4 separate regions of the Homo sapiens genome follow, and regions 2, 3 and 4 are each linked to region 1. The links are contacts of gene promoters, found by promoter capture Hi-C in blood cells and fetal thymus (Javierre and others, 2016). All regions are on one chromosome and are shown on one strand. The core of a region is centred on a gene start or on the middle of the fragment in contact, and the rest is flanking DNA. Distances in the headings are between cores, read along the strand shown.

The links. The method cuts DNA at HindIII sites, captures the fragments that hold promoters and counts their contacts. A CHiCAGO score of 5 or more calls a contact.
Region 2: a contact is called between a fragment that was not itself captured here and the fragment with the promoter of TTC33 in region 1, in 5 of 17 cell types (M1 macrophages, M0 macrophages, M2 macrophages and 2 more). The highest score is 11.2, in M1 macrophages.
Region 3: a fragment that was not itself captured here is called in contact with the fragment with the promoter of TTC33 in region 1 in 5 of 17 cell types (M0 macrophages, monocytes, activated CD4 T cells and 2 more); the score reaches 12.9 in M0 macrophages.
Region 4: a contact is called between a fragment that was not itself captured here and the fragment with the promoter of TTC33 in region 1, in 7 of 17 cell types (M2 macrophages, monocytes, naive CD4 T cells and 4 more). The highest score is 8.7, in M2 macrophages.

The regions. Positions count from the first base shown.
Region 1 is chr5:40,752,884-40,758,663 of GRCh38, forward strand. TTC33 (tetratricopeptide repeat domain 33) reads right to left here and starts at 3,078. Exons shown (of 5, transcript NM_012382.3): 1 at 2,941-3,078. RefSeq lists an enhancer at 2,952-3,101. The HindIII fragment of the contact is 9,414 bases long and covers 1,871-5,780 here.
Region 2 is chr5:39,605,871-39,611,650 of GRCh38, forward strand. No RefSeq gene overlaps it. Among named protein-coding and RNA genes, the nearest start is that of LINC02104, 88 kb to the left of the region's middle. RefSeq lists a silencer at 2,611-2,792. The HindIII fragment of the contact is 1,106 bases long and covers 2,266-3,371 here.
Region 3 is chr5:39,703,413-39,709,192 of GRCh38, forward strand. No RefSeq gene overlaps it. Among named protein-coding and RNA genes, the nearest start is that of LINC02104, 190 kb to the left of the region's middle. The HindIII fragment of the contact is 8,483 bases long and covers 1-5,780 here.
Region 4 is chr5:39,722,219-39,727,998 of GRCh38, forward strand. No RefSeq gene overlaps it. Among named protein-coding and RNA genes, the nearest start is that of LINC02104, 200 kb to the left of the region's middle. The HindIII fragment of the contact is 3,291 bases long and covers 634-3,924 here.

The DNA.
Region 1 (5,780 bases), core at 1,828-4,327:
GTGAAGCACAATAAAATGATCCCTGTAATCACTAGAAGGAAGGTGAGAAAAAAAGTGAGGGTGGCTATGAGGTCATTCACATGGAAAGACCTACCGTAATGGCAGAATTTGGAGGGGTAAGAAAATTGTGAGTCGTATGTCTGAGTTCTTAATGAATATGAGAGAGTGCCAATAAATCACAGCAATCAAGAAATATACAGGCTGGGCGCGGTGGCTCACACCTGTAATCCCAGCACTTTGGGAGGCAGAGGCAGGCGGATCACCTGAGGTCAGGAGTTCAAGACAAGCCTGGCCAACATGGTGAAACCCCGTCTCTACAAAAATACAAAAAGTACCTGGGCATGGTGGCACATGCCTGTAATCCCAGCTACTTGGGAGGCTAAGGCAGGAGAATCGCTTGAACTTAGGAGGTAGAAGTTGCAGTGAGCCGAGATTGCACCATTGCACTCCAGCCTGAGCGACACGAGCAAAACTCCATCTCAAAAAAAAAAAGAAAGAAAGAAAGAAAGAAAGAAATATACAGGCTGATAATATAAGTGAACCACAAACTTTCCACAGGAACTGAGATTTTTTTTAAAACCTGGAGGACTAATGGATTATAAACTGTGCTGGGGAATAAGGACAATGCAAACTCTCTCCCCAGGCCGATCATATTATAGGAGAATGAGTTTCCCATGTTTGAAGATGACTATGAGTATTGTAGGGGAAGATGGCTGAAAACAGAAGTGTGGATACTATGGAACAGAAGTTAAAAGGCACACAGTGAGGACAACCTGAGAAAATACAGATCATTAGGAAAGACTCACAAGATATCAGTGTAAGACAAGATAAAAAGAAGTCTTGTATTTATGATTATCCCTAATGGTAACAAGAATGATGACCACGTTTTCCGGTTTCAAGATTCCAAATGAAACTTTCTTTATTCATAAGGTGAGGCACCAGGCACTGTGGGAACCCTACTCATACTAAAGGACACCTAGTGTGTTTACTGGAGGTAAACTACAATAAAAATCATTGATCAAAAGAAAAAAAAGTAAAAAAAAAAACCGTTGATCAGATCTGTAGATTACATGAGGGGCTGTGATAGGGTGGGAAGGAAAGGAAAAAGTGAGAAACAGACCCACACATCTTTTAAAATTAATAGGTCATTCAGATTCCAATTACCCTCCCCATCTTCCAACCCAAACCACTGTTATAAATGCTGGGGACAAGTATAAGTTATGGCCCAAGGTGGTGGCTCTCAACCATATGTGAAAAAACCACGCCACTATTGCCTCAGGTGTTTGAGCCATTCTCCTCCACAGATCCCTTGAGACCTAGAGATCAGGGGCTGCAGAGGTCAGGACAGACTGAGGTTATGAGGGTGTGGGAGGCCTGATGCCACTAGCAATCGACAAGTTTAACCTGAAAGAGGGAGACAAAAATACAGTCCTCTCAGACAAAAAAAGGAGTTAATATTGAGTGAAACATACAGGCAAGTTCAGGGATGGAGGGAAAGGAAAATGAGGAATTTCATGCCCCAAGCTTCACATTTCTCCAGCAAACAGCGGCTAGTCATCTGCTCAAAGTAAAAGGAAAATAACAGATCTGAGTTCTTGAGAAAAAGGGAAAAGACTAAAATAGTCACTGTGGAGATAAGGAAAAGCAACAAAGGAAAAATAGAGATACCAAACAGTAGTATCAAGGGCCCACTACTGTGTAAAAGCATGAATCTGTTATCAAGGCCATTAGCAAAGTTTTATATTTTCTTCAAAAGTGTCTGGAAACCACAGAGTACAGTCAATTTCATACACGATATGTGCTACAAGAGAGTAAACAAAGGATGCCATGACATCAGAGAAGAGACACTTGAGGCTTTCTGGAGGACTTAAGCTTTGAAGAAAACTTAGCCAGGCTTAAAAAGGTATGTGAATCCTAGAGCATGCAAAGCACTTTCTGCATTAGAAAATTTAACATTCCCAGTTGTTTCAGATATCTTAAGCCGAACGAGTTTATTGTTCCTCTATGACTATCTGAACATGAAATTAAAACTTCTTATGAAGGAGGCTTTCCTGAGTCTAGTTAGAAGCACGAGGCTTCAACATCCTAGACTTAACATTTTTTTACCAGAGTAAGAAACCATGAGAGTAAACCACAATCCACACCGGTTTCATGTTAAACTCATGAAACCAGACAAATTCAACCTTTTATATAGGATTATATTTCAGGAATGGCATAACGATTCTAAACAACGACGCTGTATTCTAAATTCCTGTACTGTTACAAAGATCCCTATAGTAGGCGCTCAACAACTGGCGACGGCTTCACATTTACCCAGCCGCCAGAGAGGGCTTGTCTTGAGTGTGTCTGAGGATGCAGCACCCAAAGGGAAAAACCACTACATGAACAAGATCAGGAAATCACAACAGCATCCTTCTGGGTAAAAGGAGGTATTCAGAGGTGAGGAATCCAAGAAACGATTTACCCAAAAACGCCACCGCAAGAGAAAAACCAGTATTAGTGACTTTCCCTTCATCGGTCAACAATAATAAAAACGCTCAGAAAGGCTGCCCCGGACGTCACCTGCGCGTTCACGGACCGCCCCGGGCCGCAGACACCTCTCCAGCGGGGAGCGGCCGGCTCGTCCCGCCCGTCCCACCGCTCAGGGAAGGTTGCGGCCGCGCAGCTCCGCGAAGGTGCCACGGCGGGCCCGACCCTCAGACTCGCTTGTCCCTGGAGACCAACCCTAGCGACCAGGCTCTGCCGGATCCCGTCGGGTTTCAACTCCTATTCCGAAGGTCCTTTCTCCCCTAATCACAACACCCACTCGCCTCTTTTTCCTCCTCTTCCTCAGCTTCCACCGCCGACCGGGCAGCCCCAGTTACCCGATAACGGCTCCCAAGGCCCCGTGTTTACATTCTTTCCCACTGGAAGCAGAAATTATCACGCCCAAATTCCTACCTGCCTTCCCTGGATTCCTGGTTTCCTAAGAAACGGGTTTGGCCCACCCCTGGGCGTTCGAACAGTCCACAGAAGCGGGCAAAGGAAAGACGACTCAGTCTTTCCCCTCCGCCAATCTCTTCTCCGGGACCACAAATCCCAGAAGTCACCGCGGCCGCCCCCACTGCATGACCTTCTGGGATTTGTAGTAGTCAGGGCCACGCGGCTGGGCGCGCCCTCTAGCAGCAGCCCTGAGTGACCGCAGCGCACGAGCGCGGGAAAATGAGGCTGCGCGGGCTGAAGAGCGCACCGAGAGGAGCCGCCCCCGCGGTACCGCGCAGCCTCGCGTCCCGTCAGTGGGGAACAAGGTGAGGGGAAAACTTATTTTACGGGATTCAAAGGATTAGGATATGCTCCTTCCCCGAAGGGGTTTATAGCCTAGCTGATGAGGTCGGCCAGACGCAGAGAACAGAGAGGCAAAATTCGGTTATAAAGGGCTCGAGGCGGCCGGGCGGGGAGGCTAGTCAGGGAGGCTCGAGGCTGAACTGCAGGCTTCACGTTAAAGTTACAAGTGAGTTGGACCCAGAAGGCAGAATTACAGCCAGAACGTAGCTGTGCATCATGTCTTGAAAATAAACGAGCACATGTAATAAAGGTAATCAAGATTGTTAATTTCTCCAACTCTCCTGCCCAAAAGACTCATTTTTGGAAGTCATACTTTCTCAGCCTCAGCACCATTAACATTTCAAACTGGATAATGCTTTGTTGGGGGACGGGGTGTTCTGTGCATTGTAGGGTGCTTAGCAGCATCTCTGGTCTCTGTCCACGGGATGTCACCACCAGTCGATTGTGACAGCCAATGGTTTCCCCAGTGAAATTTCCCCTGGAAGAAAAACTATCCCTCCCACCCTGCCCCGTTGAGAACCACTGATGTCGACCAACGATTGTCCTGAGGGTCAATGACACCCTTTCAAAGCCAAAATTATTTTCATACTAATATGAAGACGTGATTTGCCCTTTGCACAATGCTGACATTTGCACTGATGGTGGAAAAGCAATGGTAGGTCAAGGTGCTGGCCCCTCCACAGGAATTACAGTAATGACACCAAACCGTACTGGAGCTCTTCACCACCACACGCTCACAGTAAGAAAAATGGGCCGGGCGCGGTGGTTCACGCCTGTAATCTTAGCACTTTGGGAGGTCAGGAGTTCGAGACCAGCCTGGCCAACATGGCGAAACCCCATCTCTACCAAAAATACAAAAATTAGCCAGGCCTGGCGGCACGCACCTGAATCCCAACTACTCGGGAGGCTGGGGTGGGAGGATCCCTTGAGCCTGGGAGGTCGAGGCTGCAGTGAGCCGAGGTCATGCCACTGCATTCCAGCCTGGATGACAGAGCAAGGCACGGTCTCAAAAAAAAAAAAAAAAATGGAAAAATGAACGCTGTCACCAGAGAATATCCCTGATGAAGTTGTAAAAGTTACTTTATTATAACCACTCCGACACTTAATATTCTTTGTAAAAACTTGGAAGTCCTCACAAAGTACTTCTGCTGCATATTGAAGTATGACGTATCAAAGAAGAGCTACTGTGAGATGGCATTATAAACTGAAGTAAATACTTTTTTTTCCTGGAACACAAATTTTACTAAGATGAGTGACAAACCGGTTATTCGGACTTGGGTATTTGACAAACCTTTCTTGAAAATGAACAAAGGGAATCTGTAACTTCAAGAAAAACAAGGAAAGGGAAAGGGGAAGGGGAAAGGAAAGGAAAAAAGAGAAATAGGGAGGGAGGGAGGAAAGAAAAAAAAATTGAGTTTGTTGCCAATGATAAAATTCAAGATTTTAGGCAAAAAAAAAATATGATTTTGGAAAAATGGTATTCACCATAATGATCTTGGCAGCTTCCCAGTATCTCCAGAATTTTCTGATATAAGTGATTATCAGTTGTGACTTTTATTTACATTGTTTGCTTAAATACATCAATATTTGTGCAGGCTGCATAAGTGAACCAGTAGTATTTGAAAACGATCAATGCATGACTGCGGTAGCCAGCCTCCAAGATGGCATTCACTCCTGGCATTCACATCCTTATGCACTGCCTTCCTATATTGTACCACGGTTGGTCTGTGTTACCTACAGAAGAGGGCAGAAGTGACCGTTTATCACTTCCGATATTAATTATGAAAGACACTAAGATGGTGGCAATGTTTCTTAATCTGCCTAGAGGTTTACATGGTCATGTTTCCTGTGTACCTGAAATACTGAAAACTCATTAAGCCAAATACTCATTTGTGCACTTTTCTGTATATATGTCTATGAAAGTCTTAAATAAGAAAACATGTACCTCCCTAACAAGACATGCAGAGGGAAGATTTATCTTATGGTCACATTCATAGTGTCATTAGTTCATAGTAGCCAATAAGAAGGAATAGAGGTTGCAGAGTGAGTAAATGGTACTTGAAGCTGTGCCCCCTACCTAGGGGTCTTTGCTAAATCTCTCAAGTAACCTAACCCTGATCTCCTCTACTGTGTTTAAGGGTAGCTCCCACTAAGTTTTTATACTTCACCCACTACTTCTCTACTAACTCTGACTGGTCTATGATCTTGATTCACCTAATATATTTAATATATGTCTTATGCTGTCTTTTTAAGACAACATGATCATTTTCCAAAATCCTTTAAATTTATCATAATTTATTGGCATTTACAGTAAATAGTTTATTTACAATAAATAAAAGAGTTCAAAAATTCTGATTTTTCAAACAAGAATTTCTTGGACAATTCTTGTACAGCCAAGGTAAATACCTACAGCAATTTATACATTCCCTAAAAAAACCTTATATACTACTCATAGC
Region 2 (5,780 bases), core at 1,569-4,068, 1.1 Mb before region 1:
TTCCCTAATGGCATATGATGATGAGCATCTTTTAATATGCGTTTTTGGGCCATTCATGAATCTTTTTTTGGTGAAGTATCTGTTCACAGCTTCTGCCCATTTCATAATTGGGTTGTTCATTTTCTTATTGTTGAGCTTTAAGAGTTCATTATATACTTTGGAAAACAGTCCTGTATCAGACATGTCTTTTGCAAATATTTTCTTTCAGCCTCTGACTTGTCTTCTCATTCTCTGGAGTGTATGTTTTTGTTTGCTTTGCCTGCTATGTCATAAATCTGACATTATTTAAATATCTCCTTCCATCCTGACTGTTTACTTAATGTTGACTGTGATAATTTTTTAATTCATGTTTACTTTAAGAGGCATTTGAAAGAAGCTCCTGATAAGTTCAGATACTGTTTAATATAATGTTAATGCAAAATTTTCAGTTTATGTAGGTGACAAGGAGTCAAATGTAACAGAGTCACACTGTAATGAATGTTGGGTGGTCACAAAAGGTTTATGTATCAGGCAGTGACTCATTTTGGCACACCAAAGCAAAATTCAAATGGTTACCTCAGCAAAATGACAAAGCACTGCATGCCATGGACTTTCTGGGTTGCTTATGAATAGCTGAAACACGAAATGTTAAGTACACAAATGGTGAGAAAACACTATATTTCAAGTAAAGAAACAAATGTATTTAATCACGTTTGCCAATGTCTGATTTTCTTCTTAAAGTTTTATAACCTGGAGTTTGTGGAGCCTTGGGGGATGAATAAATACAGGAGTAATGCTCTTCAAATGAGCTATTGTAAAGGACTATTGTATTTTTCAATTGGTTGTGGATTGATACATTTGTCTCATAGATAGTTCCCTCTATTAATATGGATATATATGTTATAATATACGTCAGTGGAATGTTTCTCAGCTTTTCAAACCATTTTATTGGCTGTTTTCTCTTGTCTATGGGTACTCGTAGAGAATGCTATTGAAGTTGGTATTCATATTTTAATGGGAGGAAATAATCCCAAGCTGCAGACACAAATTCAGTTCCAAACCCCAGACAGTGGATGGGCTATGCTTATCAAAGCAGACAGAATGCATATAGTAGTAATGAGAGAAATCTGAACATAGGACTGAAATATATACGTAAACCACCAGTGTTAAACTTGATTTCAGTATAACTGAAAGGACTCCAATCTGACCTCCAGAGACCTGACATGAGCTATCATGATATGAAGTCAAAATCTTTCACCCAAAATCCAGACCTAGCATCCCTTCAATTAGAAAGAAGTTGAGCAGGATGGATCATTCACTTCATAAGTACTTTCTGTAAATTTTCTTTGTACTATTCTCTAATGCATCCATTTATCAGAGTAAACACGCACTGGGAAAAGGAACCTACCTTTGGGTTGAATTGGTCACAGACTCTTAATCAATTCTGGTTCCTGAGACCTAGAACAACACAGCCAATCAGGAAAAGTGGAGCCTTGTGAAGTGAGCTGATAGATGTAGGTTAGATCTAATTCTATTTCACAGTAAGCCCAGTAGAATACTGAGTCCATCTCCAAGTCTGCTTGAAACATATTATATATCCTTAGTAGGTAGAATAATCCTGGCCTGAGTTCCTGGCACTGTGGAGTGCCATGATAGTCTTGACAGGATGTCTCCAAACCCTTGAATGTGAGAGAGTAATGAGTTACTAACTTGCTTGAGAAAAATTTATTTTAGGTTTTCCTTTACAGTCAAAACAGATGTCAAATAATGTATCACTTAATATCCTTCCAGTTCTTTTTTTGTGTTAGTTGTTTTTGTTGTTTATTCTTAAAAAACTTAAATGGCTCACACCTGTAATCCCAGCACTTTGGGAGGCCGAGGCAGGAGGATCACCTGAGGTTGGGAGGTCGAGACCAGCCTGACCAACATGGAGAAACCTTGTCTCTACTAAAAATACAAAATTAGCCAGGTGTGGTGGCGCATGCCGGTAATCCCAGCTACTCGGGAGGCTGAGGCAGAAGAATTGCTTGAACCCAGGAGGCAGAGAATGTAGCGAGCCGAGATTGCTCCATTGCCAGACTGGGCAACAAGAGCAAAACTCTGTCTCAAAAACAAAAAACAAAAAAACACTTAAATGGAACACATTTACATGATCTCACTTAATCCTCAAAAATACCAAGATTTTGGCATTACTATTTTCATTTTATAACTTAAGAAACTGGGACTCAGAAAGGTTAAGATATTGCGAAATATCGCAGGAGAGTAAGTGGTATATCCGGAGTTGGAAGCTTCAACTGTTTAATGACAAGGCCAATTCTCTTGGTGCTCATAAAGTGTTACCTCTTAAATCGAGAGTTCTCTGTCTTATGAGGTTTTTTTGTTTTGTTTTGTTTTGTAATTTTTTGTGAAATAAGGAATGAGGTCATTTCCTAAGAGTAATGGGGATGATGCTAGGCTAGTAGAGCGTGAAGAAGAATATTTGAAGTAGAAGTGGAAAGAGTCTTGTAACTGAAAGTGTGGTTATCAGTCAAGTAAATTTGGCATCCCTTTGTAGTAGCTTGATAGAAATGCAGATCTCAGGCCCCCTCCCAGACCTTCTGAATCCAATCTGCATTTATTTATTAATTTTTTTTTTTTTTTTGAGATGGAGTCTCACTCCGTCGCCCAGGCTGGAGTGCAGTGGTGTGATCTCAGCTCACTGCAAGCACCGCCTCCCGGGTTCACGCCATTCTCCTGCTTCAGCCTCCCAAGTAGCTGGGACTACAGGCACCCACCACCATGCCCGGCTAATTTTTTTAGTAGAGACAGGGTTTCACCATGTTAGCCAGGATGGGCTCGATCTCCTGAACTCGTGATCTGCCCGCCTCAGCCTCCCAAAGTGCTGGGATTACCAATCTGCATTTTTAAATATCCACAGGTGATTTGCATGTTCATTAAAGTTTTAGAAGCACTGGGCCAAGCAGAACTACTGTCAGGCAGCATTGAAGGGCCAGTTTAGATGGAGACTATACATTTATAAGCATCAATATTAATTATATCAATGACAAAGCCGAAATCCTACAAAAATGTTAGATCCTTGCTTTCTCAGCCTCCTTTGCATTTGTATCAAGAGCTTATGATCCAAACCTGGCCACTGAAACCCTAGGGGAAATGCCCTGTAGGAATTTTGGAAGAGATTTTCACCTTATTCAAACAGATGAATAGGAGCAAACTCCTGTCTTTTTGTCTGAATATTGTCATAACTGCTTGTGATACATAGAACAGTAGCAGTCACTTTGCAATATTGAAGGCATGAGCCCAAATCAAGCCAAGATAACAATTGATTAACCAACCCTAGAAGCACTATTCCTTTGGACTTCTTGTTATAAGAGATAGTAAACATTCTTATTCAAAGCTTTTCACTTGTATTTTTCATTGCTTGCAGGTAAGAGTATCCTAAGTTAAAAAAAATTATGGTTTTTCTCCTAAAATCCTCACAACATTATATTACAACAAAATGAGGCAAATTACAGAATTACTGGCTGAAAATTTGTAGGGTGAACGTGTCTAAATAAAAGCATTTGAAGGTTTAGGCAAATGTTTTTGCCTATACCTTCAGATTTGCACCTTCAGATACCTATAGATTTGCACCATGGGGTTGACACTTGGCAAGGATGGGATGTGACAATAGCCAGGATGGTGTTAACAGAATAATCAAACACAGAAGGTCAACATTTAATGAGATTAAAATGTTGTTACATTGGGATTGAGAGAGGAGGAAGTAGAGTCAGAAAGAAGATATTAGAATATAAGATTTCAGAGGTGAAGCAAGTAATGTTGCTGCCCTGGATGAGGGTGGATGATATAAAATAAATGTGAATATGATTGGAGTTTAGGAAGTCAAAGAAGCATAAAACTAGCTTGTTGGATGATACAACCAACCACACGGACATTGGAGAGACTTGGAATTATGACAGTTCTTGAGGTAGAGGCAGGACTTAAGGAATATGGACATGCTCGGGACATTGGAGAACAACTAAATTGAGAAAGGTCTCACAGAGGAGGGCACTTTTGGCTTGCACTGTGTAGAATGGGAATAGTCTATACAGTAGAGAGAAATGCAATCGTAGGCGTGCTTGGCAGAGGGAGCGATATGTGCAAAGCTCCTAGACAGGAAAAACCGTTTGAGGAATGGTGGGTAGTTCTTTGCTGCTGGAGCAGAGAAGGAAATAAGTTTTGGGTCAACTTGTGAAGAATTTATAAGTTACAAAAGCAAATTTGGATATATTCTGATCAATACTTATTGCTGATGATAGTTATCTAACCTCAAGGGAATTTAAAAGCTTTTATTCCTTTTTTTTTTTTTTTTTTTTTTTTTTTTTTTTGAGACGGAGTCTCGCTCTGTCGTCCAGGCTGGAGTGCAGTGGCGCAATCTTGGCTCACTGCAAGCTTCACCTCCCAAGTTCATGCCATTCTCCATTCTCCTGCCTCAGCCTCCGGAGTAGCTAGGACTACAAGAGGCCGCCACCACGCCAGGCTAATTTTTTTGTATTTTTAGTAGAGACGGGGTTTCACCGTGTTAGCCAGGATGGTCTCGATCTCCTGATCTTGTGATCCGCCCGCCTCGGCCTCCCAAAGTAGCTTTTATTCTTTTTTATAAAAAAATGCTCCACATGAAAGATGTCCCCTCACTCTGTCTGTCCTTCCTTCCTTCTTTCCTTCCTTCCTTCCCTCCCTGCCTTCCCTGCCTTCCCCTTCCCTTCCCTTCCTTTCCCTCCCTTCCTTCCCTCCCTGCCTTCCCCTTCCCTTCCCTTCCTTTCCCTCCCTTCCTTCCCTCCCTGCCTTCCCTGCCTTCCTCTTCCCTTCCCTTCCTTTCCCTCCCTTCCTTCCCTCCCTGCCTTCCCTGCTTTCCCCTTCCCTTCCCTTCCTTTCCCTCCCTTCCTTCCCTCCCTGCCTTCCCTGCCTTCCCCTTCCCTTCCCTTCCCTCCCTTCCTTCCCTCCTTCCTTCCCTCCCTCCCTTCCCTGGCTTCCCTTCCCTTCCCTTCCCCTCCCTCCCTCCCTTCCTTCCTCCCTTCCTTCCTTCCCCTCCCTCCTTCCTTCCCTCCCTCCTTCCCTTCCTTCCTTCCTTCCCTCCCTCCTTCCCTTCCTTCCTTCCTTTCCTTCTTCTTTTTTTTTTTCTTTTTATTGAGATGGAGTCTTGCTCTGTCACCCAGGCTGCAGTGCAGTGGTGCAGTCTCATCTCACGGCCAACTTTTGCTGCCTGGATTCAAGTGATTCTCATGCCTCAGCTTCCCAAGTAGCTGGGATTACAGGCACCCACCACCACGCCGGCTAATTTTTTGTATTTTTAGTAGAGATGAGATTTCACCATGTTGGCCAGGCTGTTCTCCAACTCCTGACCTCAGGTGATCCGCCCACCTCGGCCTCCCACTGTGCTGGGATTAGGCGTGAGTCACCGTGCCTGGCCTCTCTCTTTCTCCCTCCCTCTCTACCTCCCTCCCTCCCTCCCTCTCTCTTTTTTCTTTTTCTTTTTCTTTCTGATGCAGTCTCTCTCTGTCGCCCAGGCTGGAGTGCAGTGGGGTGATCTCCGCTCACTGGAAGCTCCGCCTCCCGAATTCACGCCATTCTCTTGCCTCTGCCTCCCAAGTAGCTGGGACTACAAGCGCCGGCCACCATGCCTGGCTAATTTTTTGTATTTTTAGTAGAGACGAGGTTTCACTATGTTAGCCAGGATGGTCTCGATCTCCTGACCTCGTGATCCGCCCGCCTTGGCCTCTCAAAGTGCTAGGATTACAGGCGTGAGCCACCACACCCTCCCTCCT
Region 3 (5,780 bases), core at 2,441-4,940, 1.0 Mb before region 1:
GTAGAATAATTTTTTTTTTTTTGAGACAAAGTCTCGCTTTTGTCCCCCAGGCTGCAGTGCGATGGCACTATCTCGGCTCACTACAACCTCTGCCTCCCGGGTTCAAGCAATTCTCCTGCCTCAGTCCCCTGCGTAGCTGGGATTACAGGAGCCTGCCACCACGCCCGGATAATTTTTTGGTATTTTTAGTAGAGCTGGGGTTTCACCATGTTGGTCAGGCTGGTCTCGAACTCCTGACCTCAGGTGATCCACCCACCTCGGCCTCCCAAAGTGCTGGGATTACAGGTGTGAGCCACCGCTCCCGGCCAAATGATTTAAGAAGAGAGTTCTCAGAAGATTTTCTTTCTACTTTTCCCAGAGCCTGCTCACCATTTGGTGTAGGGATATAGAGGAAACACGTTTGATAGGAAATTTACAACTTGCTACTAAAATATGCTTCTGTTCCTAGAATTATGCCAAGTGAATGGAACAGATTGTCATTTACTAATGTAACTAATGTAACCCTGAGTTCTGGTATGTCTCTGCCAGGATAATTTGAGGAAGGGAAAGTTGGGGATACTCACCTTTGATTTTGTTTGAGCTTCATATTTTCTTTCTCAAGAAAATTTAATGAAACAGATTTTACTGAACAGCACCTGGCACTTCCTACTTGTATAAACTTTTAACCTAACATTACAGAAATCAAAAAGTTTTCATTAACAGTGAATAAAATTATAATTATATAAAATTATAATTCTGTTTAAAAATTTCAACTAATGCCTTTCATTGCTAAAATCTTTCCTAAAATTAAGCAAAATCAGACTAGCTATGAATATTCTTCAATATTGCTTTCAATATGTCCTAAGGACTCAACTGCTTTCTTATTCTTTTGTATTACCTTCTCTTCTAGACATTTGAAGTTCCCTTGAGCTCTCCAAAATTTAACTAATAAATAAGATACAGTGTCCCCAATTTCCTTAGTATTTGTGGTCCACAAGAATAATCAGGAAGGTTTCTAATAATTCCAAACAATCAGAAAAACAATTACAAAATTGCACACATTTATAAACTGCATAACAAACATAAAATTACAAAACTTTCAAATTTCTTACAATGGTAGTTTTTAACTTCCATCTATATTGGTAACTGAAACTCCCATGGACTTCTATTTTGATTTTTTTAATCTTTGGGGTAGAATTTCCCAAAACACTCATTTACCTCAGATTTTGTCCTTCCTTGCTGACAAATAGAACAAGTGAAAAAAGACTAAGCATCATCTTGGCTCTGAAGACAAATTAGAATTTTCAAGACCACCAAGTTCATTAATAAGTTAGCCTCATAATTGTAATGTTTACTATTGCATGATACTATATGCCAATAGGTGTTGGCCTTGCTCAAGAAAAGTCTTCTTCTTCTTCTTCTTCTTCTTTTTTTTTTTTTTTGAGACAGGGTCTCACTCTGTGGCCCAGGCTTGAGTGCAGTGGTGAGATCTTGGCTCACTGCAACCTCTACCTCCCAGGTTCAAGTGATTCTCATACCTCAGCTTCCTGAGTAGCTGGGACTACAGGCACGTGCCATCACACTCGGCTAATTTTTGTATTTTTAGTAGAGACAGGGTTTCACCATGTTGGCCAGGCTGGTCTCAATTTCCTGACTTCAGGTGATCCATCTGCCTTGGCCTCCCAAAGTGTCGGGATTACAGGCATGAGCCATCATGCCCAACCAATAGAAATCTGTGGTGCATTTCTTCATAAAGCTCACAGTGGCTGAAGGCTGAAAAGTCCCCCGAGGCATAAAGAAGCAAAACATGGCAATAAAGGGTTTTTTTCTTCTTTTATATCTAGACACAAGCACTGGCCACAAGGATTATTTGATGGCATCAAACCTCAAGTCTGCATTCCTGGGGCCATGTTTACTATTCTTTCCTTAGACTATCTTAATGTGAGTTGGGGTAGGTAATGGGAGAACAGACTTTTTTATCTCCCTCGGGGAGTAATGTTTTTCCTAAAAAGGGCTCATAAATCAGATCAAGGACAGGTTAAAGAGAAACAGATCATAGCAATCTCTCAGGGCTGCACAACAAACTTTATCAGTTGTAGCTTTCAATTCCATGAGGTGCTCTTGCTATCTAAAAACGAAGTGAGAAATTGCATCTTGCTGTTTACAACAGAAATGGAATCATTTTTCACAACCTGACCTTTATGCCAGGTGCTTTTTCATCAGAAAATATGTCAGTGAGAAAGGGGAAAGGGAATGAATGGTGGAGCTTCATATGAAATCTGAAATTAAATCTATTTCAAGATAGTCATCTTGAAATCGGTGAAGTATCTTGTTTCCACAAAATCAAACAGAGTATCTAAAACATTTTATTTCATATTTGACTACATTTTGTACATAATGTAACTGGGTTTTGAATTTATAGGAAAGAGGCTCCTTTCTCATTTGGAACACAGAGAACTTTAGTTTCTGATAAGCCAACTGAATTTGATTTCACTGGAGAGTTGGTTTGAGGAAAACATGCAAGAACAGAAAAACTAGTCTATAGGAATAACACATTAGTGAATAACAAAATGTTTACAATGAAAATAATCTGTGGTAAAAGATGTTGCTCCAGCCTAGGCAACACAGTGAGATCCCACCTCTATAAAACCGAAACTGTTAGCCAGGCATGATGGCATATACCTGCAGTCCCAGCTACCAGGGAGACTGACAGAAGAAGATCACTTGAAATGGGGAGGTCGAGGCTGCAGTGAGCTGTGGTCAAGTCACTGCACTCCAGGCTGGGTGATAGAGCAAGGCTTTGTCTCAAAAAAAAATTGTTGCTGTTATTTCTGTCACTTCAAAATTTAGAGAAGTTATTCAGTACAGAGTGCCATTCAAAAAGTAAAAATGTGTATCCTAAAGGAGCAAACAAGTCAGTGTTTTTTTAAATTACATTTTTTTTTCTTAAATTACCAAAAGAGTAAAGCTCAGCTTCAATCACACCAATTTACAATTATAGGAAGGATGAAAATTTCCCCAAATGTCCCTTTTAACAACATCTCCAAGGAAACCACTGCTAGTACTTTGGCATATTTGCTCCATGATTTTCCTGTGCGTTTTCTAACTGTCTCTCTCTCTCTTTCTCATACTTTTACCTTATATAGTCCTATACTGTTTCAATGTTATAACTAGGTATTTTTTTAAATAAAAAGATATAAATATATGGACTTTTTTCATTACCTCTGCAAATAATGGTATTACAAACAAAAAGTCAGAAACATCAATAACTTTAAGTAAGACCTTTAAAAGGCCATGCCTATACAGCTAGCTGACCACCCTTAGGTCCATGAATTTTAACACCTTTTTCTACCTGGGACATAAAAAATTGAAAGAGGTTGAAAAGCAGGTACCTTAACCTCATTTCTTGGGAAGGGAATACATTACTGAAACTCATAAAATTTTTCTTTGAAATTTTTCTTTACAAAGGCCGGGCGCGGTGGCTCACGCCTGTAATTCCAGCACTTTGGGAGGCCGAGGCGGGCGGATCACGAGGTCAGGAGATTGAGACCATCCTGGCCAACATGGTGAAACCCCGTCTGTACTAAAAATACAAAAATTAGCCGGGTGAGGTGGCACGCACCTGTAATCGCAGCTATTTGGGAGGCTGAGGCAGGAGAATCGCTTGAACCCGGGAGTCGGAGGTTGCAGTGAACCAAGATCGTCACTGCACTCCAGCCTGGTGACAGAACAAGACTCCATCTCAAAAACAAAGAAATAAATAAAGAAAAAATAAGAAATTTTTCTTTACAAAATTTGGACAGGAACTCATACTCTTATGTCTGTAAGAGTGGATACATGCCGTATCTATTTTAATCTATGGATTTTCAGAGGAGTTGCTTTCCTGGGGTGGGGGAAAGAGACCGCAACTCACATTAACATACTAAGAAATGGTATACAAAACATGTCTGATCAACTTGAGTGACCCCAACAGTGCCCAGAGCACAGAAAAGGACAATAGGACCCCAAATGGGAGGAAGAGTCTAGAATTGTGAGTCCCCAATTTGCAATGGGTCCTGTTGGTATGAGAACATAACTGATTTTGAAACTTATCCCAGTAGGGTACTGTGGGGGTGTTTGCATGGCCTGGGACTTAGTGGCTAAGAATGTGAGCATAGAAAAAGCTACAACATTTTCAGGTTCATGCAACCTTTGCTGTGGGGTATCCCCTGGCTGAGCAGAATAGATATATGAACACAATAGATATGCGGCAAATATTCATCTCACCACATGTAATACTGATGCCTGGGTAAATGAGGACTTCACCACAGAAGCAGAGGTGACAGTTGTGGTGGTAATTCAAGGTCAAGGAAACTGGCAACTCACTTAAGCTGCCTCTCTCAGTGGGTGTCTGGGGCCATGAGAATCTGTCATGTCTAGTTGTGTGGCAAATGGGAAAATCTCTTATCATTAACTACCAAGAGATTTTAAGGTACGTATGTCTTTTGCTGTGGGGCCTTTCCCCAAATTGAGCATCATCTCGAAAGAGTGGTGATGTTAGTAATGGTTCAGGAGTAGATTTCAGGTCCAAGTTGGTGCCGTGGCAAAGAAGTCAAAAGAGACTGGGAACATCATCAGTAGCAAAAGGGGCAAAAGGCCAGAGAACTGATCAGATAAGGTTTATGCGCATCCTTGGGAAACCTCAGATACATGCATTTAAAGAGATGCTCTCAATCAATAGACAAGTAGGGATTGGTAGCATCAAGATTTGAGTACTAACAGATATTAATGTTAATATTCATACATTGTATTCACCTTATTGTAAGTGTGTTGCTGAAGCAAATGTCTCTCACATTACCTAAGATCAGCCTTGAACAAGTTTTTCAGAGAAAATGAATTTATTTTTCAAGTCATTGTAGCTACTCTTAGTTTATGTATATTATCAGATAATGATTTGCAGCTTTTAAATGACTTAGAAAACTAAAACTTATTTTCTAAAGTCATAAAACTTTATTTTCAAAGAATTTGAAGTTCAAATTTGAATGAGATTATTATCAAAATAACGCGTTCTTTAGCTTTTTCCTTTATAAAATATTTATAAAATATTGTCAGGGTTTTTGTTTGCTTGCTTTTCTTTTTGCTACGGAAGTACTAGTTAAATATCCTTTATCCAAAATGCTTGGGATCAGAAGTATTCGCCATTTCTTTTTTGGAGGGATTTTGGAATATTTTCATTACTGATTGAGCATTCCTAATCTGAAAATCTGAAGTCTGAAAATCTCCAGTGAGTATTTACTTTGGGCATGATGCCAGCACTCAAAGTTTCACATTTAGGGGCATTTTGGATTTCAGATTTTTAAATTAGGAATGCTCAACCTGTAATACTTGCTTGGCTTTGAAAAATGTAAAGGTCAAGGAACGCATAAAAAAGAAGTGTCATCCTTAATTCTACTAATTCCTTCAAAAATATGCATAGCTAGTGATCAGGATGTGTCAAACAAGGGGATTCTTTTACTTCTACCTTTGTTCTTGGTCCATCTAAGGAAGTAATTAATACCCCAAATTCCTATGTCAGATACTTCGTTAAAGAAATTAACTTGACTATTCATAATCTCTCAAAAGGCAATGCCTGTGAGAATTATTCTTTCTATTTTTTGATCTGGAGGGGTTGTTTGCACAGTCATATGGTGCAGTAATATAAGCAGTAGGATGTCACCGAAATGTACAAAATTAAATATCAATGATATTGGTAGCTAACACATTTTGTACTTAGTATGTGTCAGGCTCTATTATTAGAACTTTGTATGTATTATATTACAAAT
Region 4 (5,780 bases), core at 1,029-3,528, 1.0 Mb before region 1:
CAACTTCTGCTAGCTTCCAACTTTCTTCTACAGCTTCCTCACATCTCTGGGCTTTCATTGAATTGAGAGTTTGAACTGGGTTAGGCTTTGTTTCAAGAGAATGTTATATAATTGGCTTGATCTTCTGTCAAGAACATTGAAACTTTCTGCATGTCAGTAATAAGGCTGTTTCACTTTCTTATCATTTGTGTGTTCATTCAAGTAGCACTTTAAATTTCTGCCAATAACTTTTGATTTGTATTCACAGCTTGGCTAACTGTTTGGAGCAAGAGGCCTGGCTTACAACCTGTCTTGGCTTTTGACATGCCTTCCTCACTACGCTTAATCATTTATAGCTTTTTACTTAAAGTGAGAGATACGTGACTCTTCCTTTCACTCGAACACTTAGAGGCCATTGTAGGATTATTAATTGGCCTAATTTCAATACTGTTGTATCTCAGGGAATAGGGAGAATCTTAGAGAAGCATAGAGATAGGGGAATGACTGGTCTGTGGAGCAGTAAGAACACATACATGTATTAATTAAGTTTGCTTTCTTATATGGGAGTGGTTTGTAGTGCCCTCAAACAATTACAATAGTAACTTTAAGATCACTGGTTACAGATCGCTATAAGAAATACAACAATAATAATTAAGCTTGAAACATTGCAAGAATTACCAAAATGTGACACAGAGATACAGAGTGTACAAATGCCGTCTCTGTGTCGCATTGGGAAATGACACTGATAAACTGATAAAATTGCTCAGCACAGACTTGCCACAAACCAGTTTGCAAAAAATGCAGTATCTATGAAGTGCAATAAAGTGAAGTACCATAAAGTGAGATATTCCTGTAAGTATCCTTTGTTTTCACCTATACCACACGTTTCCCCATATGAACATCATTGCATAGATTTCTATTGTCCATATCAGTAATAATTTCTTAATGAGGGATTACTAGAAGTAAAAATACTTTATCAAATTCACGTTACTTATCTTAAAAATCTTGATACATAATAGAAAATTACCTCCCTGAAAGTATTTATCTATTTACACTCTTGGCAGCATTTCATCAGAATTCAGGTTCACAGTTTCTTCACCATTTTGTTCTTTGAAAATTTGATAGGCCAAAATCTGGTATGTCATTATTTTATTATGAATTTATTTGATTACTTGTGAGATCAAATATGTTTTCTTGTTTAACAACCAGTTTTATTTCTTCTGTTTTTTTGCTGTAATCTATTTAACTGAATCCACATGTTCTGTCCTTTTGGCTAATAGATATTTAAAATAATTATTTTTTAACAAAGAATAAGTATGCTAAACATTATTATATGAGTTTTGAATATTTTACTAGTTTGTCTTTTAAAGTAGCTTCTAATTTTTAACACTAAAACAATTTTGACTTTATATGTAGTCAAGTGTATAACTTTTTGTATAATTTTTAGTATTGGGGGATTTAATTTGGCTTAAAATTTTAATATTTAATCCATTTATAGTTTATTTCAATGTAGTTGTAAAGGGAGATCTAATTTTATTGTGTGTGCATGTAGACATACATATATATATTTAAAATTTATTTATTTTTTAAAATAGAAAACCTTTCCAAAAATGTCTAAAAGGAACTTATTTGTTCCACACTAAATTATTTTATTCTTTACACTAGCTATGTTGACTTTTTTTCATGCCTTACAGCTAGAACTTCTAAAATTATATTACTAATACTATTTACAAGAATCCTTATTCCCCATTGATTTTAATAGAAACACCTCTGTTACTATGCAATACTTAATTATTCCATCATAGTCTATAATTTGATTTGTTATTCTCTTTTTAATCCAAAATTTACTATGGAATACTTTTAATTTCTAAATTGTAATGTATGTATAGTGGTGAATGAGACTTAGTGGTTGTGCTTTTGTTATTTATTTTTAACTGAAATATATTTTGTATGTATTTGTCGGAAAATAGATAATTGTAAATTTGACATTTTACAATTTTTTGAGATATTCTTTGTGATTCAGTGTGTATATTTTTCTCCGTATGCCAATGGATACTTAAAAATGTGGATAATAAAGTTAAATTTACAGTTAATAGTATTACAAATTATTTTATATGTACTTTTTGTGTCCTTGATTAATAGTTTTTAAGAGGTGTATGTTATAATTATAGGTGCAAAAAAGCTCATAGTGGAACATGTCAATGCAATATAGCCACTAATTTAATGACTCTTACCTTGGATTCTGTGTTAATGTTTAGTAGAACTGCACTGTTCCTATTTGAGTTTCTCAGATGTATTTTAATCCACCTATTTACTTTAACATTTTATTACTATTTTGATTTAGGTATATTTCTTAAACTTTTGAGCTTTATTATTAATTCAATATGAGGTGTTTTTTTTTTGTTTTTTTTTTGAGACGGAATCTCGCACTTTTGCCCAGGCTGGAGTGCAGTGGCGCGGTCTTGGCCCACCGCAAGCTCGGCCTCCAAGGCTCATGCCGTTCTCCTGCCTCAGCCTCCCAAGTAGCTGGGACTACAGGCGCCCGCCCCCATGCCTGGCGAATTTTTTTGTATTTTTAGTAGAGACGGGGTTTCACTGTGTTAGCCAGGCTTGTGTCGATCTCCTGACCTCGTGATCCACCCGCCTCAGCCGCCCAAAGTGCTGGGATTACAGGCGTGAGCCACTGTGCCCGGCCCGAGATCTATTTTTAATAAGATATTTAATCTATATTAATTTCATAGCAAATTAGCATGCTCAAAATGAAATTCCTCCTTATGAATTTTCATTCTCCAGGAATTTTCATCTCAATAAATGACAGTGACGTTAATCCAAATTCCAGGGTACTCATCACTATTTCTCTCCCTTTAATACTTTGATAATTCAGTTCTGGCTGGGCGTGTTGGCTCACCCAGCCACCACTTTGAAAGGCCGAGGTGGGCAGATCACATGAGGTCGGGAGTTCACGACCAGCCTGACCAACATGGAAAAACCCCATCTCTACTAAAAATACAAAATTAGCTGGGCATGGTGGCACATGCCTGTAATCCCAGCTACTCGGAAGGCTGAGGCAGGAGAATCGCTTGAACCCGGGAGGCGGAGGTTGCGGTGAGCTGAGATCGTGCCATTGCACCCCAGCCTGGGCAACAAGAGCGAAACTCCGTCTCAAAAAACGAAACAAAACAAAAAAAAGAAAAAAGAAAAAAAAGGAAAAAAAAAGAAAATTCAGTTCATCTGCAAATCATGTTGACTATATCTCAAAAGTGAATTTCAATTCTGCCTCTGCCCATCTCCCTTGCCTAATAATACATCATTATTTCTCACTTAACACTTTCACAATGCTTCCTCTATTGCCTCCTGTAATGGATTCTTCATGTTGGAGCCAGAGTTATATCTTAAAGTCTTTAATCCATTTTAAAAATGTAACTCAGACTCTAAAATTCTTATGCTTTAAACTTTTCTATGAATTCTTTTATTTTGACCTAAATGCAAACTTTTTTTTTTTTTTTTTTTTTTTTGCATAGCTACTTTTGTATTCCTTCTCAACCTCAATTCTCTTTCTCAGTTGCTTCTGTCCACCCACACTGGTCTTTTATCTTTAAGCCAGCCAAGTTCATTCATACTTTAGGACCTTCATATGTACTTTTCATCTGCTTAAAATGTTCTTCAACCCAGCTTTTGGCATCTCAGCTCCCCTTTCGTATGTCATGCTTCATTTCACATGCCTTGGCCTGTGAGCCTTTCTCCAACTATTCTATGTAGATAAATCGCTCACTACCTCACCCAGTTACTCTAACACAATCATATTCAAACTGTAGAAGATATTCCCAGGGATATTCCAGCAATGATAGATTTAAGGAAATCTATCAATTCAATTAACTTCCATATATTTCACCATACCAGGTTATATGAAAAATCACTTGGTTGCCAAGAAAAAAAACAAAAGAAAGCTTTTTGTAATGTTTAAACAAGACACATGCATCTTGAAGGCCTCTTCTCTTATAAATAGTTTTCTTAATGGTGAAATATAGCATCGACAGAAGGGCATTTTGGCTCTGTTAGGAAAAGTTTTGAATTTAATCAAATGGTGGAGTGGACAGGTATAAGTAATCATTTAAAAAATCAAAGAGTGCATCATTCTTAAAAGAGGATACCAAGAGCAAAAGTAAGATAGCATAAAAGAGAGACATTGAATGCACACAAAATTTTAAAAAACATATTTAAAGTCAAGCAATTATCTTCAGAAATTCTTAATATTGTATTCATCTTTAAAATATTTTATCTTAGAAATTATCTTTAGAGTATTAAAGCAGCATTAGTTATTATGTTAATTCATATAGTTAGTCTCTCACTAGATATTCTTGAAGACTATCAAAATTTTCAATATACATTGGATAAAATCCAAGGATAAAACTTACATGTAATTTCTTTTAGCATTAGTGCATATTAACCAATAAGGTAAATAAAGCTGACCTAGTCAAATCATATCTTGATGTATTGTTTTAATTATAATGAATGTTCATCTTATGTCATAAAATATTTAATATTGTCTACCTTCTATTTAACAAAAAAGAAGTTACATGAGACGATGTATTTTTCTGTTATGTTCTATTATTACATACTAACATACACTTCTAATATTACATATTAGTACATAGGAAAAGTTTTATCATGATGTTTTATGCAATTATTGGAGTTATTACTGATTTTTATCAGTAAAAATTTTTGTCACTAAAAATATAAATTTTTACTTGTTTATGCCCATAAACCAAACATTAAAATTTTATATTGTACTCATGTTTATTAAAGATGTAACATATTTTTTATCATTCTCTATTATAAATAATAATTATACTTACTGAGACTGCATTATAAATTGAGCATGTAAAACAGAATAATATCTTGTTTTTATAATTTATAAAATTTGATAAATTTATTAAATTATTTCTACATCTCTAATCTTGACTGCTTTTTGGTAATATATCTTTTATGACATACTACAATTCCTTTCTTAGTGTTTTTATGGGACTTCTTGAGATAGACATCTTAGTAACACTTATCAGAAATTAAAAATAAATTCATTATCTAAAATTCAGTAAGACTAATCTGTATGTTTGGAACACAATGAGGATTTGATACACCAATTTAAATAATAGGAAAAATATTTTTTGTAAGTAGAATATGCTAACGCTGAAGCACCAAGATTTTAATTAAAATATATTTTACATACATATTATTTTATGAGAAATACTACACTGGTAAATATGTAATACATGCAAACATTTTGATTTTCAGAAGTGTTCTGAGCTTATTAGGTTAAATATGGAAATAAGCAATCCATAGAATTAATAGTCATTTGATAATTCTTAAAATGTCCATTATAGAAACTGAAAGCATGAATACCATAGTCATCCATCATCAACAAATATTTTTAATAATATATCATCTGAGAATTCAATTAGGTTTTCCTTCAGTGTCATTTTTGGCATGCAATTCAAAGACATTCGAATAAATAAATGAATTTGCTATAATACAACTCTTTCAATTACCATATAATTATTTTTGTCAACATGATTTCTCAAAGCTTATAGATATTAAAATAAAAAAAGACATCATTTACTGAGTTTCTAAGAATATATTTTATTTATTCATGACATGCAAACTACTGGAGAGTAGTGAAATCCTATTCATCTCACTCGAGGCACATTATATGTATTTGGTATTTAACAAACATTATAAAAATGCATATTTTATATTGTTTTGATTAATTGTATACTAATAATATATAAAATTATGACAATACA